Linked DNA regions of Homo sapiens: region 1 is linked to region 2. Evidence: promoter capture Hi-C in 16 types of primary human blood cells and fetal thymus (Javierre and others, 2016). All regions are on one chromosome and are shown on one strand. Each heading gives the region's core, a stretch centred on a gene start or on the middle of the fragment in contact. The rest is flanking DNA. Distances are from core to core; before and after follow the strand shown. Region 1 overlaps GUCY1A1 (guanylate cyclase 1 soluble subunit alpha 1). Region 2 holds the start of GUCY1B1 (guanylate cyclase 1 soluble subunit beta 1).

Region 1 (2,855 bases), core at 201-2,700, 54 kb before region 2:
ACAACACTGCTTATCAATGCTCTACTTTCCACTTATTTATTAGAGACAATCAGCTGTTAAGATAAATTAATAGCTACTCAACATGTATTTATTAAGTATAAAAGCTTACATACAAATGTCTTGCAAAATAAGGAAACTCATGAAATTCTCAGAAATCAATAAAAGAAAATAAAACCATAAGTATTTGATGAGGATTATTAGTTCAAAGAAAGGAAATCAGTGTAAGCCAAGGTAAACCCAAGGCTCATTTCAAATAAATGATCAACTAACTTTGGTGACAGATTAGATTTAAGAGATCAAAAAAGGAAGAGACAGAGATAACTCCAGAGTTTGCTAGACAAGAAGATGATATGAATGTATAGTTAAGGGCAGAGAGTCACTGGGGCAGCTGGGTGTGGAGTTTGTGAAAGGAACAGAAATTTGCTTGGCTTGGTCCATGCTGAGATTGAAGTATTGGCCGCCCGTCCAGAGGGATTTCCTGACTCAGAGGAAGTGATGCCCATGGAATCCTATATTGCAGAAGACCTAACACTACCAAACTGAAATCTTCTGTTTGGGTTCACACTCAGCTCAACTATTCTGTGGCTGTCAGTGAGACCACCACCAAAGGCTAAACCTGTGGGCCACAACACATATCCAATCTCAGATTAGTCTCAGCACATTGCTTCCTCTCCAGTTTGAAAAACACATAGAAAATCACTTCCAGTTTCCAAAGTGAAAATTCATAACATTTATCATTCAAGCAATTGTATAATGTGCTTTATTCTCGAAAATAAATCTTCAGGATGCATTTTTAAATATATAATTCCAAACAAATTATTATATAAGGGAATGTTTAAAACATTTCTTTTGAACTTTCAGTTTGAACGGCTGAATGTTGCACTTCAGAGAACATTGGCAAAGCACAAAATAAAAGAAAGCAGGTAAGTCAAACCACTTTAGTTGTGTGAACCTCTTATTACAATGACTAATACTGCTACTAATGGCCAGCAGTTACTGAATGTGTCAGCCCTTTATTGAATCATTGTGGTATGTCAGAAACTGGACTTAGTACTTTAGCTGATACTAATTTCAAAGTAAGTGCATCTATTTATCACATTTTATAAATGATTAAACTCAGGTTTATATGAAGTATTTAGAATTTTATAGCCGTTTAAGGAAAAGACAGAGCTGGGGTTCGAGCCTGGGTTTTTCAGAGCCATTATTTTAAGCATGTAGTTATAAACTGCTGCTTTAACAAGCTCCTGTAAGGCCGATTCTTTTGTACTAATTGGTAACTTCTAAAATATTTAACAACAGGTAAGTCATGGATCCCAAACAATCAAGACTTCCTGCCTGAAGGATGCTGCCAAAGTTTTGAGCAGGGTCCCAGCAGGTACCCCATCCCCAACACACATCTCAACAACATGTTAATACTTTAGTATCTGCATCAGGAGGAGGTAGAAGGATCAAGTGCTTAAGAGGAGGGGGACTCAGGGTTCCGGGGGGTAGCAGCTGTTTATTAATCCTTAGGGAAGTGTTTCTGTATTCTCCTAACTAGTTTGGTTGCACTGCAGAACATCAGTTTGTTTATACTTTTTTTCTAGTATTCTTTGAAATTTTCCTTTAAAGCATTTCTGAAGAGGCTTAATATAAAGTTACTTTTTATTTTTTATTTTTTTTTTAGAAACAGGGTCTCACTCTGTCATCCAGGCTGAATGCAGTGGTGTGATCATAGCTCACTGCTGCCCAGAACTCCTGGGCTCAGGCCATCCTTCTGCCTCAGCCTCCCAAAAAACTGAGATTAAGGGCATGGACCTAAAGTTACTTTTTTAAAATTTATTTTTATTTTTTTGAGACAGGGTCTTGCTCTGTCGCCTAGGCTGGAGTGCAGTGCAATCTTGGCTCACTACAACCTCTGCCTCCCTGGCTCAAGCCATTTTCCCACATCAACCTCTCGAGCAGCTGGGACTACAGGCATGTGCCACCATGCTCACCTAATTTTTGTTTTGGTTTTTGTTTTGTAGAGATGGGGTTTCACCGTGTTGCTCAGGCTGGTCTCAAACTCATGAGCTCAAGCATTCACCCGCGTTGGCCTCCAAAACTGCTAGGATTACAGGCATGCGCCACTGCGCCTTGTCTCTAAAGTTACATTTTTTAAATCTGATTTATTTAGTGAATCAAATACAATTTAGCACATTTACTGCTGACAGAAAATGTAATAGGGGCCAGGCACGGTGGCAAATCCCAGCCCTTTGGGAGGTCAAGGTAGACAGATCACCTGCGGTCAGGAGTTCGAGACCAGACTGGCCAACATGGCGAAACCCCGTCTCTACTAAAAACACAAAAATTAGCCAGGCATGGTGGCAGATGCCTGTAATCCCAGCTAATCAGGCAGGAGAATGGCCTGAACCCAGGAGACAGAGGTTGCAGTGAGCCAAGATTGTGCCACTGCACTCCAGCCTGGGCGACAGAGTGAGACTCCATCTCAAAAAAAAAAAAAAAAAAAAGTAATAGGCCCCGTTTTTGATTCCCTGAAATTTCAAGGTTTATTTGGTCTATAAATAATAGAATAAATACTGGTGTTGAAATTTGCAGAACTGAACATTGGAGTTTTACAAACCAGCACTATTGTCAGGAATGTTTTAACAATTCATTCATCTGTCTCCTACTCATGAGTGATCATCTGCTCTGTGGATCATATGTGCTTGATTTTCCTTGCTGACTAGCTGGTCCCAGACTGCAGGCAGCAGGACCAAGCCAAGAAGGGGTCATGGACAGGTCCAGAAGGAAAGAGTGTGAATCTATGTGTCTGACAGAAGCTTTGTTTACACGAGTAACATGAGAAGCATTCCAGAACACCTCTGACCTTAATA
Region 2 (2,901 bases), core at 137-2,636:
TTCTTGTGGTGTTTTGTAAACCTGACAATACTTTTCTGCATCATCATTTTCTAGTCACCCTCCTGCTTTTTCATGGTTGTTTAATGTGCCATTTTAATGGTTCAAAATTAGTGGTTAATTGTTGTTAAATAATGATTAATGTTTTAATAGTTGTTTAAAACAAGGTGTTAGATTGTATGAAAGGCTGTAATCTATTTACTCATTCCACCAATAATGGAAATTTTTAAAGTAATTTGTTGTTTTGTTTGTTTGCTACATGCCACTATTTCTGTATCAGTTTCCTTCATCATAGCTCTCTCGGTGCTGATGTCAGCACAATCTTATTGTTTTGACATTTTTCTCTAACCATATTGAGACTGTTCTCACAACAAAATATGCACATCTTAAAATACCATCTGGCTTCTCAGGTCCACTTGAGACTGGTGACCTCACTTTTGACCTTGCCCTAAAAGTCAACTGGAGTCCATATACCTCAGGTACAAACAGCTTTAATAAGCTGCCACTTCCTGTTCCTCTCATCTTCTCTCTATGGCAGGACTCAGAGCATTAACTAACCTAAGGGCCTGGTAGAATGTAAGCTGGAGGTAGAGTAGTTAAAGTCTGTGCATTTTGTACTGGTCATTTTCCAGTTCGTCTGTTGCTAAGAAACAGCAACAGAGGCCCGCTCTAGAGGGTTACAAACTCCCTGGAATTATGGCTCCCGGACATGGTGTAGGGAAAGGTGTCCCACAGGGATCAAGCCTAGAATATCGCTGGATCTTGTACAGTTTAGTAAAGGGCAGGACTGGATTTAACATAACGTCCACCAAACTACATTACTGAAAATTTTTGGTGCTTCACTCAACTAGTCTCATTGACTAGAAGTGAAAATATGTTTTTCTCAATATTACCAGCTTTAAATTTGCCATAAACTGTTGTGGGACCAAGCCACAGAGGAAATGTTTTTCCGCTAGACAAAGATAAGCATGAGGATGCCAGCAACAGAGGATATTCCTTTTAAGGTCTGTCCATTGCAAAGTACACACGTACACGCTCACACAACAAACACGCCCTGTTCCCTTTTGCTTGTGTTAACCACTGAGGGCAGATCTCTGAATAATAATACATTTAGTGGGTCCACAAGAGCTGCATTTCCTCTGCTCCAGAATTCATGCAAGGAGCACGGCTGGGGCTTCTCCACTGTCATTGTTATGGCCTCAAATGAAGGCCTTGTCACCAGGCGGGGGCGGGAAGGCACTGGAGCGCAGCAGCATTGAGAGCATCCGAATTCCCTCCTCTGTCCCTGATTGGTTGAAGAACTGGGGAGCACCGACCAGCCCCCTGCGGCTCGACTCGCCATTGGCTGGGAAGAGGTGGCAATCAGGGCGGGCCAAGGCGGCTGTTCTCGCTCCAGCTCGATGCTGCCTCCCCGGCCCGGTTGCGCTGTAGCCGCTGCCGCCTCTGCCTGGGTCCCTTCGGCCGTACCTCTGCGTGGGGGCTGCCTCCCCGGCTCCCGGTGCAGACACCATGGTAAGTGCTCTCAGCCGGGTGCGGCCCGAACCTCACCCCTCCTCGGCCGGCCTGGCAGCGAGGGAACTGGCCGCGCAGCCGGAGCTTGGCTCGGGGGCCCTGGGCGCTCACTGCCGGCCACGGGAGCAGCCTCACTCCTTGCCCGCGCCCAGTCAGGGGAGGTGGGAACGCCGCGAGTCGTGGCGGGGGCGATCGGTGCCTTTGCTTCCCAGGCGGGTTTGCCGCTCCACACCGCAGCTTCCTGAGCTCGGGAAGGGGAGGTGCGGCGGAGGCGTGGGGTCTTCCCGGCTCTGGCCGGCCCCACCAGTGTGGGAGGCTGAGCGCCAGCGGAAGGGAAGGCTCCGGGTTCGCGTCCCCGCGCTGCCCCCGATGCCCAGCCTCTCCCGGAGCGGTGACAGGTGAGGAGGGTGGGAAGATAGCGTGGGGGTGGGGCGGATGGTGACGGGGAGAATCCACCAGGGATTGGGGGGTTGCGCCCCCACGATCCGACTCCTTTAGTGCATAGTACCCCTAAGGGAGAGGAGTCAGGGGCGGGGTGAAAGGTTAAGCCAGCGCCATGGGAGCAGAGGCAGCAGCCTCGCCCCCAAGCCGCTTCTCAGGTACAGCGGGTCCCTGACGCTCAAGTCTCTCCCTGTCCCCGCAGTACGGATTTGTGAATCACGCCCTGGAGTTGCTGGTGATCCGCAATTACGGCCCCGAGGTGTGGGAAGACATCAAGTAAGTGGCCGGCTACCCTGGCTGTGGCCCAGGTCGGCGCCCAGTGTGGGAGGCCCCCCGCGCCTCGCCTGGTCCTCAGCCTGCTGGCCGGGTCGCGGGCGCGCATCCTTGGAGGTGCCTCCGCGCCTCGCTCCCGGCTCGCTGCAGCTGCGCTCCCACGCTCCGGGACTGGAACCAGGAGGGGAGGGGCGGCTGGGGCGGGGCTGCGAGGGCGAGAACCGCGGAAAGGAGCCCCTAGGGGTCACCACGGCTTCCCGACCCGGCCTGAGCGTGGGAACGCGCTGCCGGCGCTCCCAGGCTCAGCAGGCCGGGCAGCTCCCACGCGTGCAGAGCCCCGAGGGACCACACGGGCCTCCGCGAGGTTCCTGCGCCCGGAGGCCTTAGAAACAAACGGAAGACTTTGGCTCCTTTATGATTTACACACCTGGCGTAAGTTAGGCCTTTTTGGTATGCTGAAACACGCGGGAGATTATTTCTTGAGCAACAGTGAATTAAGCGCATTTATTCATTTTTAAATAAAGTGAAAATTGGAAGTTTTTTGTTTTCCCCAAATCCCACTGCCCACCCCCCCCGCCCCAACCCCTATCCCCCGTTTTTTTCTACTGTGTTGAAGACTTAACAGTTCTAGGAGGCATTCTACTTTCAGTCCTGGAGCTTTGAGCCCAGTACTGGGGA

Evidence for each region. Contacts are between HindIII fragments. The CHiCAGO score rates a contact against its expected background, and 5 or more counts as called.
Region 1: a contact is called between a fragment that was not itself captured here and the fragment with the promoter of GUCY1B1 in region 2, in 1 of 17 cell types (megakaryocytes). The highest score is 5.1, in megakaryocytes.

Annotation. Positions count from the first base shown.
Region 1 is chr4:155,703,071-155,705,925 of GRCh38, forward strand. It overlaps GUCY1A1 (guanylate cyclase 1 soluble subunit alpha 1), which reads left to right. Exons shown (of 10, transcript NM_001130682.3): 4 at 862-923. Among named protein-coding and RNA genes, the nearest start is that of GUCY1A1, 38 kb to the left of the region's middle. The HindIII fragment of the contact is 2,697 bases long and covers 103-2,799 here.
Region 2 is chr4:155,757,635-155,760,535 of GRCh38, forward strand. GUCY1B1 (guanylate cyclase 1 soluble subunit beta 1) reads left to right here and starts at 1,387. Exons shown (of 14, transcript NM_000857.5): 1 at 1,387-1,509; 2 at 2,153-2,226. The coding sequence starts at 1,507. LOC105377506 (a long non-coding RNA gene) reads right to left here and starts at 781. Exons shown (of 8, transcript XR_007058484.1): 1 at 556-781. RefSeq lists silencers at 1,565-1,714, 2,165-2,434. The HindIII fragment of the contact is 7,462 bases long and covers 1-2,901 here.